Linked DNA regions of Homo sapiens: all the other regions are linked to region 1. Evidence: promoter capture Hi-C in 16 types of primary human blood cells and fetal thymus (Javierre and others, 2016). All regions are on one chromosome and are shown on one strand. Each heading gives the region's core, a stretch centred on a gene start or on the middle of the fragment in contact. The rest is flanking DNA. Distances are from core to core; before and after follow the strand shown. Region 1 holds the start of KRT80 (keratin 80). Region 2 has its middle 15 kb from the start of KRT8. Region 3 has its middle 28 kb from the start of EIF4B.

The links. The method cuts DNA at HindIII sites, captures the fragments that hold promoters and counts their contacts. A CHiCAGO score of 5 or more calls a contact.
Region 2: a contact is called between a fragment that was not itself captured here and the fragment with the promoter of KRT80 in region 1, in 2 of 17 cell types (endothelial precursors and total CD8 T cells). The highest score is 6.4, in endothelial precursors.
Region 3: a contact is called between a fragment that was not itself captured here and the fragment with the promoter of KRT80 in region 1, in 2 of 17 cell types (endothelial precursors and total CD4 T cells). The highest score is 8.2, in endothelial precursors.

What each region holds. Positions count from the first base shown.
Region 1 is chr12:52,189,751-52,193,345 of GRCh38, reverse strand. KRT80 (keratin 80) reads left to right here and starts at 1,332. Exons shown (of 9, transcript NM_182507.3): 1 at 1,332-1,743. The coding sequence starts at 1,444. The HindIII fragment of the contact is 31,387 bases long and covers 1-3,595 here.
Region 2 is chr12:52,918,018-52,921,856 of GRCh38, reverse strand. It overlaps a transcript of KRT8 not described here. Among named protein-coding and RNA genes, the nearest start is that of KRT8, 15 kb to the right of the region's middle. RefSeq lists enhancers at 2,817-3,316, 3,317-3,818. The HindIII fragment of the contact is 2,200 bases long and covers 561-2,760 here.
Region 3 is chr12:52,976,349-52,980,251 of GRCh38, reverse strand. No RefSeq gene overlaps it. Among named protein-coding and RNA genes, the nearest start is that of EIF4B, 28 kb to the left of the region's middle. The HindIII fragment of the contact is 5,548 bases long and covers 1-3,903 here.

The DNA of each region.
Region 1 (3,595 bases), core at 83-2,582:
ACTGGCAAATGGTTCTCCCCGCTCAGGGGCTCTCTCTTCCTCTGGGCCCAGAGGGGGCTGCTACCCCTTCTATCTCTGACCATCTGTGACTCTCCCAGACACACTCCTCTCTCTGCTCTGGCCCCTGCCACCCAGAGCAGGATTGAGCCAGGTCCAGGAAAGACATGCAGATCCAGCCACCAGGGCCAGAACATCAGGACCACCAGGCCAGGAAAGGAGACGCAGGGCTGGGAGAGCTGGTAACCCCCTGGGGTGGGAGAGTGGGGTCTCAGGAACTGTGGAAAGGTAGGCATTGCCCTGGGCCAGGTGGGCCTCTGCCGCCCTGTCAGAGGCTCTGTGGGGGCAAAATGGGGTCTTTTCTATTTCTACTTCACAGATGGTGTAAAAGAGGTCAAAGGAGGCAGAGAAGAGAAAGAAGAGTGGGGAGGAAAGAGTGTGAGGAAGGCAGGGATTCTCATTGCCCCAGAGCAGAGCTGCATTCAGCCATACCCATCGCCCCTGCTAGACTCAGCACCCGGAAGGCAGTACCACTGATTGAGGCCAACTTTGTCCCCTGTCCTCTACCAAGTGCTTTGTACATGCTACCTCCTGTGAGGTGGGTGTTTTCATCCCCACTTTACAAATGAAGACAAAAGTCAAGTAACGTGCCTGAGGTCACATGAGTGGTGAGCAGTCCAGCTGAGTCTTGAACCAGGTCTCACATTTCCAATGCTGAGAGCTCCTTGGCCTTGACCGTCTATGTCCTCCCAGCCTCTGAGACAGTAGGGTGTACATAGTAGGTCCTCAATCAATGCTAGTTAAAGTGAAGGAAGGAAGGAAGGGAGAGGGGGTAGAAGGAAGGGGGAAGATAAGCCAGGGAGACTCTTTGGCAGCCAGAAAATAAATAATAAGTGCTGTTTTCCAGTGCCAGGCTGGCACGGTGCCCAGGATAGCTGCCCTACACTCGGGAGCTCAAGGCCTATGCTTGACTCATCTTTTCCAGAAGTATGTGAGCCCAGATACGTCAGCCTTCAAGTATGCAGTGAGGTCTGCGGTGAGGCGCTCTCTCTTCTCTCCTGCCCCCTTGAATGGCCTTCCTTTTGCCAACTCCCCACCCCCAACCCACCCGGCCAGTCCAGCCTTGGCCCCCTCCCCAGAGCTAGGCCTGCTTTCTTTGGGGCAGGGGGCTGTGGACCAGCCCCCTAAGCAATGCAGATACCTGTTGGGAGGGAGACCTACATGCTGCTGGGGGAGGGGCGGGAGCACCCACATCATCCAACAGGTTGGTCAGGCTGGGAGGCGTCCCGCCCTCCTGCAGCTAATGAGCACTGTGCAACAGGTGTCTGCTCCTCAGTCCCCAGCCCGCCCCAGCTGTGACCAGAGCAACCAGAGCCTGCCACCCGACGCAACCCCAGGCTCACTCGCTCACCCCCCTGGGCCCTCCTGCTTCCGGCCGGGGGCACCATGGCCTGCCGCTCCTGCGTGGTTGGCTTCAGCAGCCTCAGCAGCTGTGAGGTGACCCCGGTGGGCAGCCCCCGGCCTGGAACCTCAGGATGGGACAGCTGCAGGGCCCCCGGGCCGGGCTTCAGCTCCCGCAGCCTCACAGGCTGCTGGTCGGCTGGCACTATCTCCAAGGTGACTGTGAACCCCGGCCTGCTGGTGCCCCTGGATGTCAAGTTGGACCCCGCTGTTCAGCAGCTGAAGAACCAGGAGAAGGAGGAGATGAAGGCCCTCAATGATAAATTTGCCTCCCTAATTGGCAAGGTGAGCACAAGTAGGGGGTCCCAAACATGAAGGGCTGCCAGGCCTGGGCCGGTAGCTGAGCTCTGTGTTTCCCTGAGCATCGATCACCGCGCCCCACCCCTGCACCCAGCCAATGGGGAGATGGCACTGCTAACCCGACAGGCTAGCTCTGAGCAGAGGCTGGGGGAGGGAAGTCCCTGATCCATCCTGGCATGTGGGGAGAAAGGGACCCCAGGATGGCCTTTGAGGGATGTGTTGATAATAACATGCTGCATGACCTGGGGTCACCCACCACCCAGGCAGGGACTGGGGAGGACCACCTAGTGTGGCCAGGGGTGCCCTCTCGCAGGAATGGCTGATGGAGGCATGCTCTGCGGTCCTACTCTGAGGCAAGTGGACAGGGGAGATGGCCTCCCAGGCACCACGCTCCTGTTTATCCCTCAAGCCTCTGGTCCCACAGCATCTCTCTCAGCTGCCCCAGTCAGAAAAGCCAGCAGGGTGGAGGGTGAGTGCGGGGCTGCTGGAAGGAGGTTGCTGCCCAGACTGCTGCAAGTGAGGGTGCAGCTCAGGTGTCAGGAGATAGGAATGCAGGGGACGATGCCTCGAGTCAGAACAGGGAAGCCAGTTGGGCCTTCCTGCACCCTGCGCCCCTCCTGACTGCGGGAGGTGCATCCTCAGCATCACAACCACACTTCCTAGACTCCACTACCCATGGCCTGCAACAGGTCTGGGGCACTCGTGTCCACCTCTGCTCCCAGGGCAAGGGAGCTCCCAAGGAAGTTATCCACTTCCCAAATCTGTTCTTTACTCATCTTCTCCAAGAAACTCCTCCTGACTCTGCACCCTCCTGCACCCTCAAGAATAATCATGATAGTGCCAGCTGCCATTGGTTAATTGCTTACTATGTGCCAGGCACTGTGCTGATGCTTTTCAGGTTTATCTGTATTTCTCTCAACAACCTTATGGGAGAAGACAATTTTATGTCCATTTCACAGATAAGGAAAACTGTACATTTCTGAACCTGCCAGTAAACCAGAGGTCCAGCCTTCAGCCCCTGGCTCAGTCCTTGTCTGCTCTTGGCCTCTGATTCTGTGTTCCTCTGCATGTTGCTGGTCTCCCCCATGAGGTGGGAGCTCACAGAGAGGGGCAGAGGGAAGAAAGTAACATGCATTGAGCATCTACTTATGCCTTGCCCTCTGGAGGAACATTGCAAATGCAATGAAATTCAAGCCACACTGCCACCCTGCAGTGGCTGTTATTTTCCCAACTGTGCAGATGAGGAAACTGAGGACCAGCAAGGCTAAGTGCCTTGCCCAAGATCACACAACCAGCAAATGGTAGTCTGGATTTGAACTCAGGTCTGTTGAGACACGAAGTCAGTGGTCTCTGTGGTGGGAATCTTTTCTTTCCTTCTTCCATTCATGTGCCTAGACCAGAGTTTCATCATCCACACCTGGGGTACCCCTGGGTACCCAGAGGGGAAGGACCACAGTCCACTGAGGCAGAGCATCCCTTCCCCCAGCCCTAACTGCACAGAGCCTTGCATTGCTGAGCTGGTTCTCCCTCTAAGAGCAGCCCAGCTGCCCTGGGGAGGCAGGTCCCTAAAGAGCCACCTCCTGACCAAACCCAGTTTAATCCCTTAGAAGGAATGCTTCACTGAGCTATGGAATTTGGCTCAGATGGGTGGTTTTCTCCCTCAAACGCCAGCACTGATATCACCCTGTGCCCCTGCCATGGGGATGGGAGGATATAAGCACAGGGAAGAGGCCCTCAGGGTTGGGGTCCTGTGCCCAGAGACCAGGGCAATGCCCTTGAAGTTCTTTAGCAGAATTGGAGCCTCCCAACCCTTAGCCTTGACCTTGAGATGGGGTGC
Region 2 (3,839 bases), core at 411-2,910, 730 kb before region 1:
CAGTGTTCTCCACTCTAGAATGCAGATAATGCTTATTTTATAGTTTCTGTAAGAATTAAAAGCTTTACCACCTTAAGGAAACTGCTAGGCCATGGGGGAATAGCTGAACCCATGCCCAGCTCTGGGAGATCCGGCCACAGCTGGGGATGCACAATCAGAGGCTCCAGGCTGGAGGGCTGGAGGGAGAAGCCTGGGAGGAATAGTCCATCTGGGAGGGCTTCCTGAAGGAAGTCCTTGGGGGTAGAGCCAGGCTAGAGGGACACAAAGAGAGAGGAAGGAGGGGCCCTGGGCCTGTGCACTGCATAAGTGAAGAGGGAGTTTGTGCAGGAGCTGGCAGTCAAGTAGGATAGGGTCAGGCCATGGGGGCCTGGGGGTGGAGGTTTAGTGTGGTGACATGTGGGAGCCATCGAAGCCATAGAACTGTGGGTCCAGGAGGAGGACTAGGGAGTTTGACTTTTGCAGCTGGACAATTGTGAGCAAGAAGTACTGGTCCTCTCCCTCAGAGAGGCTTTCCCTCCTTTGCCTTCCATGTTCTGGAGGCTGCTGTTGCTACTTAAGCTTCTCTTAATGTTCCCTGGATGGTCACCCAGGAAACTTGGGGAGGCAAGGAAGGAGAGAGAAGGTAGAATGTGGCCTTGGGGAATAGATGGCCTCTGCCTGGAGTTCTGTAGGGAATGCATAAACACACAATTAGTTGTGTTGCCATGGGAACTTGACTAACAGGTCCCTGAGGCTAAGCTGGCCTGGGCTGGCCTGGGCTTAGCCCATTCCCACCATCCAGGTCAACAGATTTTCCTAAAGGCCTATGAATGGGTCATTGTATCTGAGTTGGGGTTATCTTAGTCCTTAGAGACCAGGGAATGGGGTGGGGGCAGGTTGGTTACAGAGTGGTGGGTAGCAGGTCTTTTCTTTAGCTGAGCTGCGTGCTCTCTAGAGTCTCTCTGTCTCATTTTCTGTCTTACAGACATATATGCACACATGCAGGGTCTTGCTATGTCGCTGGTTGTCCAGGCTGGTCTTGAACTCCTGGCCTCAAGTGATCTTCCCTTGGCCTTCCAAAGTACTGGGATTACAGGTGTGAGCCACTGTGCCTGGCTGGGCACAGGCTTACCTGGCAGGCTGGTTCAGCCATTTGTGAATTCGTTCATCATATACTGGTGGAGTGCCTGTTAGATGTCTTTCTAATGCTGTGGATGTGACGGTCAACAACATAGTCAAGGTCTCTGCCCTCATGGGGCTGTCCATTTTTAATTTTTTTTCAGATGGAGTTTCGCTCTTGTTGCCCAGGCTGGAGTGCAATGGCACAATCTCAGCTCACCCCAACCTCTGCCCCCTGGGTTCAATCAATTCGCCTGCCTCAGCCTCTTAAGTAGCTGGGATTACAGGCATGTGCCACCATGCCTGGCTAATTTTGTATTTTTAGTAGAGATGGGGTTTCTCCATGTTGGTCAGGCTGGTCTCAAACTCTTGACCTCAGGTGATCTGCCTGCCTTGGCCTCCCAAAGTGCTGGGATTACAGGCGTGAGCCACCGTGCCTGGGCTGGGGCTGTCCATTTTGATGGGGAGAGGTCCCCCAAGTCTGCCAGAATCCCTACTGTAGGAGAGGTAGTACAGATGCTCAATAAATAAATGTAATATAGCTCTTTTGGATTGCTAAATAAAATAATAAACATGTTTTGAATCCTCCCTTTTGAGTTATTGACATTATTACATCTCTTAATGGACATAATTGGATCCTGACTATAAAACAGCATAATTGAAAAGAGAATGTTCAAGCTCTAAAATTACTCCAGACTTGGGTTCAATTCCTGTCTCTGTCACACTAACCAAAGGACCTTGGGCTTTAGTTTCCTTGTCTGTAAAATGAGAACAATGTTACCTTCCTCATGGATTAGTTTAGGATTATAAATAATAGGTGCGGTGGCTCACGCCTGTAATCCCAGCACCTTGGGAGGCCAAGGCAGGCAGATCCCCTGAGGTCAGGAGTTCAAGACTAGCCTGGCCTACATGGTGAAACCCTGTCTCACTAAAAATACTAAAATTATCCGGGCATGGTGGTGCAGGTCTTTAGTCCCAGCTACTTGGGAGGCTGAGGCAGGAGAATAGCTTGAGAACCCAGGAGGTGGAGGTTGCAGTGAGTCAAGATCGTGCCACTGCACTCCAGCCTGGGCAACAGAGCAAGACTCCATCTCAAAATAAAATAGACTAAAATAAAATAAAATAATATATAATATATGTAAGAGATCTGACACTTTGACACTTGGTAGGAACCCTGAAAATGAAAGCCATGGCTGGGCATGGTGGCTCACACCTGTAATCCCAGCACTTTGGGAGGCTGAGGCGAGCAGATCACTTGGGGCCAGCAGTTTGGGACCAGCCTGGTCAACATGGTGAAACCCTGTCTCTACTAAAAATACAAAAACTTAGCAGAGAGTGGTGGTACATGCCTGTAGTCCCAGCTACTTGGGAGGCTGAGACAGGAGAATTGCTTGAACCCGGGAAGCGAAGGTTGCAGTGAGCTGAGGTAGTGCCACTACATGCACTCCAGACTGGGTGACAGAGTGAGACTCTGTCTCAAAAACAAAAAAACAAAAAAGAAACCCATCATGATCACCATGGTTCCCAATCCTAATCACTACCACTGCCACCATCATTGGCAGGGAAAGGAGCCCTGGGTTGAGAGTTGGGGAAAGCAAGTGGGCGTCAGTAGGCAGGGCTCTGTTTGCATGGCTAGCTCCCTAGGAATTGGATTTGCAAGCTTCTGTTTTGCATAATGGCGGATTTTTACATGCTATTTCTTTATTACTATCCTATAAGCTCCTCCTTATAGACCCAATTGCCACCTCCTAGTTACCCTCCACCCTGCTGAGCTAGCACTTTCTTCCACTTGACCACCTACCCTGGGAAGAGGCAGCAGACACTGTTCTGTTCTGCAAGGAGGTTATTTCATGCAGGGAAACACAAGGCTTAAACTCTCACAAGGCAAATGTATCAAAGTGATGTGAACACAAGTTCCATGGGGGAGGGTGGTCTGAAGGTGGTGAGGGAATGGGGGAAATTGTGTGGAGAAAGGCTTTGGGAAAGGCTGGGGGACAAGCAGGGAGGGTTGGTGAGAGTCAAGCTAACATGTCTTGAAAACCTGCTATTTTAGGCACTGTTCCTTACCTGATGATCATGTCAGTCTTCTGAGGTAGTTGTTACTATCTGCATTTTCAGCTGGTGAAGTAACTCTTAACACCATTAGGAAGTGGCTGCGAAATTCTTCTGGTTGCACCCTCTGTCCTTTGGGTTTTGGTCACACATGGCTTTGGGGCAGCAGAACATGCATGGGCAGGCTCGGGGCAGCTGCACCTGCGCGGCGTCTGTCTGGCGGGGCTCAGATGCCAGTTCTTCCCTTCACAGCTGTGTGAATGTAGGCACTTTTCCATCTCGGCCTGGTGGGATCTTTATGAATTTAAATGAGGTGATGCATGCAGCGCATACAGTAGGCCTGCATGTTTCTGAGGCTCCAACAACCCAGCTGATACAGTAGAGGCCCCTTGACCTTCTGCCTGAACCCTCCTCATGAACTTCCCAGTTGACGCAGACTCTGTTTTGTTTCTTCTTCTTCTTCTTCTTCTTCTTCTTCTTCTTCTTCTTCTTCTTCTTCTTGTTCTTCTTCTTCTTCTTCTTCTTCCTCTTCCTCTTCTTCTTCTTCTTCCCCTTCTCCCTCTCCCTCTCCCCCTCCTTCTTCTTCCTCTTCTTCTTCTTCTTCTTCCTCTTCTTCTTCTCCTCCTCCTCCTCTTCTTCTTCTCCTTCTTCTTCCTCTTCTTCTTCTTCTCCTCCTCCTCTTCTTCTTC
Region 3 (3,903 bases), core at 544-3,043, 790 kb before region 1:
GAGACTGCAAAAAGAGGAGCTGGAACACAGAGTCAGGGCACTGGCCATGGAGTCTGGATGCTTCCTGGGTCACGGAAGGGTTTTAAGTAGGTGAGGGATATTATGAGATCTAGTTTTATCTATTTATTATTTATTTATATATTTTTTAGAGGTGGTCTTGCTCTGTTGCCCAGGCTGGTCTCAAACTTCTGGGCTCAAGAGATTCTCCCACCTCAGTCTCCCAAGTAGCTGGGACCACTGGGCCTGGCACACATTTATTTTTATTTTTATTTATTTATTTTTTTGAGATGGAGTCTTGCTCTGTCACCCAGGCTGGAGAGTAGTGGCACCATCTTGGTTCACTGCACCCTCTGCCTCTTGGGTTCAAGTGATTCTCCTGCCTCAGCCTCCTGAGTAGCTGGGACTATGGGCACCTGCCACCATGCCCGGCTAATTTTTTTTTTTTTTTTGGTAGAGATGGGGTTTTGCCACATTGGCCAGGCTGGTTTTGAACTCCTGACCTCAGGTGATCCGCCCACTTTGGCTGGGATTACAGGTGTGAGCCACCAAGCCCGGCTGAGATTTATTTTTAAAGAAGACCATGTTGGCTGGTGTGTGGAGGAAGGCTGAGTGGTTACTGGTGGCCATGAGAAGACTTTCTGTTAGGAAGATGTTGCAGTGATAGTACAGAGGACAGATGCCTACAGCCTGGATGTGGGGTGTGGATGGGGAGAAAGGAATAGATTTGGACTTACTGTGGAAGTAGGGTTATTAATTTATTAGATCCATAGGGTAGACCAAGAGAGAAGGAGGTGTCAAATATGATTCCCAGGTTTCTGGCACAAGCAATTAGATGGATGGTGTGTCATTTACTAAGATGAACAAGAATTATGAAGCTGGTGGGAGCTAAGATCAATAATCCAGTTTTGAACAGGTTAAATTTGAGATGCCTAAGAGTCATCTAAAAAGAGGCATTAAGTAGAATATTCCATAGGCTGCTCTGGAGCTCACAAGAAAGGTCTGGTTGGACATCACAATCTGGAAGTCTTTGGTCTATAGAAGATGCAATTAAAACCAGGGCAAGGTATGAGATGACTCAAGAAAATAGTCCCTATTAATAAGAGAATAGGGGCCAGGACCCAGCCCTGAGGAACATCAACTTTATATCAGGTCAATTTATAGATCAGAAACATCAAGTTACAGACCATGTCAAGGAGGGTGAGTGGGGAAAAGGGACCGAGAAACTATAACTAGAGAAAAGCCTGGCACGAGGTGTCTGGGAGACTAGGAAGGAGAGTGTTTCAAGAAGGAGGGAGAGGCTGGGTGCTGTGGCTCATGCCTGTAATCCCAGCACTTTGGGAGGCCGAGGCAGGTGGATCACCTGAGGTCAGGAGTTCGAGACCAGCCTGGCTAACATGGTGAAACCCTGTCTCTACTAAAAATACAAAAAATTAGCCAGGTGTGGTGGCACACGCCTATAATCCCAGCTACTTGGAAGGCTGAGGCAAGAGAATCGCTTGAACCTGGGAGATGGAGGTTGCAGTGAGCCAAGATCATGCCACTGGACTCCAGCTTGGGCAACAAGAGTGAAACTCCATCTCAAAAAAAAAAAAAAAAAAAAAAGAAGGAGGGAGCATGCAGCTGCTGGAAGCTAAGTGGTCAAGGAACAAAAGGAATGTCAAGTGTCCATCGATTTCAACAACATGGAGGTCTCTGGGAACCTTGGCTAGTGCAGCTTCTGAGGAGCCATACGAGCTGAGCCAGCCTGGAGGGGCTGAAGAGTGAACTGGGTGAGGAAGGGGAAAGCCTGTGTGTAGACCTCTTTTGAGAATAATGTAAGGCCAGATGCAGTGACTCAAGCCTGTAACCCCAGCACTTTGGGAAGCCGAGGCAAGTGGATCACCTGAGGTCAGGAGTTTGAGACCAGCCTGACCAACATGATAAAACCCCATCTCCACTAAAAATACAAAATTAGCCAGGTGTGGTGGCGCATGCCTATAATCCCAGCTACTTGGGAGGCAGAGGCAGGAGAATCACTTGAACCCTGGAAGTGGAGGTTGCAGTGAGCCGAGATCGCGCCACTGCACTCCAGCCTGGGCAACAAGAGCAAAACTCTGTCTCAAACAACAACAACAACAACAACAACAACAACAACAAAACAACAACAAAACGAGAGAGAATGATGTAAGATGCTTAGCTATGAGAAGGAACAGAGAGCTGGCCAGGCGCAGTGGCTCACGCCTGTAATCCCAGCACTTTGGAAGGCTGAGGCGGGTGGATCACCTGAGGTCAGGAGTTCGAGACCAGCCTGGCCAATGTGGTGAAACACCATCTCTAGTAAAAATACAAAAATTAGCTGGGTGTGGTGGTGGGCACCTGTAATCCCAGCTACTCGTGAGGCTGAGGTAGGAGAATCACTTGAACCTGGGAGGCAGAGGCTGCAGTGAGCTGAGATCACACCATTGCACTCCTGCCTGGGTGACAGAGTGAGATTCCGTCTCAAAAAAAAAAAAAAAAAAAAAAGAGAGAAGGAACAGAGAGCTGCAAGGGAAGGTGGTCCAGGGAGCTTGTTTTCAGGTGGGCAACCCTGGAATTGTTGAGGGAGAGAAGAGAGAAGAGAGGGGGAGAAATCTCATGTGGGGGGGAGGGGAAAGGGTCAGCGGGTGGTATGAAGAGGGACTGGGTTCCAGACCTCTGCCCATGCTTTTTCCTCTACCTGTGATGCCCTTTCTGACCTCACTGCCTGCTCACCCTACAAGACAAGACTTTGTCTCTACCCACTCACAGCATGTTTAATAGCGGATCCTGGCTCTTACCATATGCTACTGAAGACAGAGACTATGACAGAAGTATAAGTCCCCCAGCACTGTGTCTGACACACATTTGGAGGACAGCCCGGGGCAGGGTGGGAGGTGAACGGTGAAGTGTCAGCACCCTGCCTGGACATTATGGTGGTGGAGTGAGGGCGATGTTTGAGGGGGTGAATGGCAGACTGACTGAGAGAATCTCAGCTGTTCCTCTCAGTGGCTCTTTCTAATACTTTTTAATTTTGTTTGTTTGTTTGTTTGTTTGTTTCCTGCAGGAGTGGAGCCCTGACAGTTCCCAGACCCTCTCACATACTCTCTCAAGGAATCCAGCTTAATGGATCAGCCCACTGTAGACAAAAAAACAGAAAACAGAAAATGGATCCAGAACCCAGACTCCCATCAGTCCCACCACATAGCCAGCAGGAGGTCAGGGGTGAGGGGGGCAGGCTGGGGTTTAGTGGGGGCCTGCATTCCTTTCTCTCTGCACGGCGGCAGGGCTTCTCAAGTATTCTCTAATTAAGATGAGAAGCAGAAGCAGGGGCTCTCTGGAATGTAAACAGCAGATAAGATCAGGCACCCTCCTCCCTGGGAAACTTCCATTTTCCTTCTTTTAGGATGGACACTGCATTCTTTCCCCGCTGCAGTCTTTGGCTCCCCAGTTCTTTCCATCCCCCCTCCCTCAGCCCTTGTCTCTGTCTTTGAGTCTCTGTCTGCATCCCTTATGGCTCCCTCATCTGGTACAGGGCTTGTGCATTGGAACCCAGAGGGGAACCTCTCATTTCATCAGTATATGGACATCTCCCAGGTTCAGGCTGGGAGTTTTTGACCCTTGCTATGGGCTTCTCTCTCCTGTCTCTTCTAGGAGGACAGAGCAGGCTCCATCATTGTACCAAGGCAATGTTCATTCAAATAAACAATGCCAGCCAACATGTGGGGCCAGGCACGCCAAGTACTAAAGGGACCATCTTGATGAGTGGTGCTCATAAGAGGTGTCAGAGGAGGAGACAGCATTGGCAGGCAGCCTGAGGGTGGCAGCCGAGTTACGGGGAAGGCTTCAGGGAGGAGGCGTGATTTGCACTGAGCCTTGAGGAAAACGTGGGATGCAGGACATGGAAGG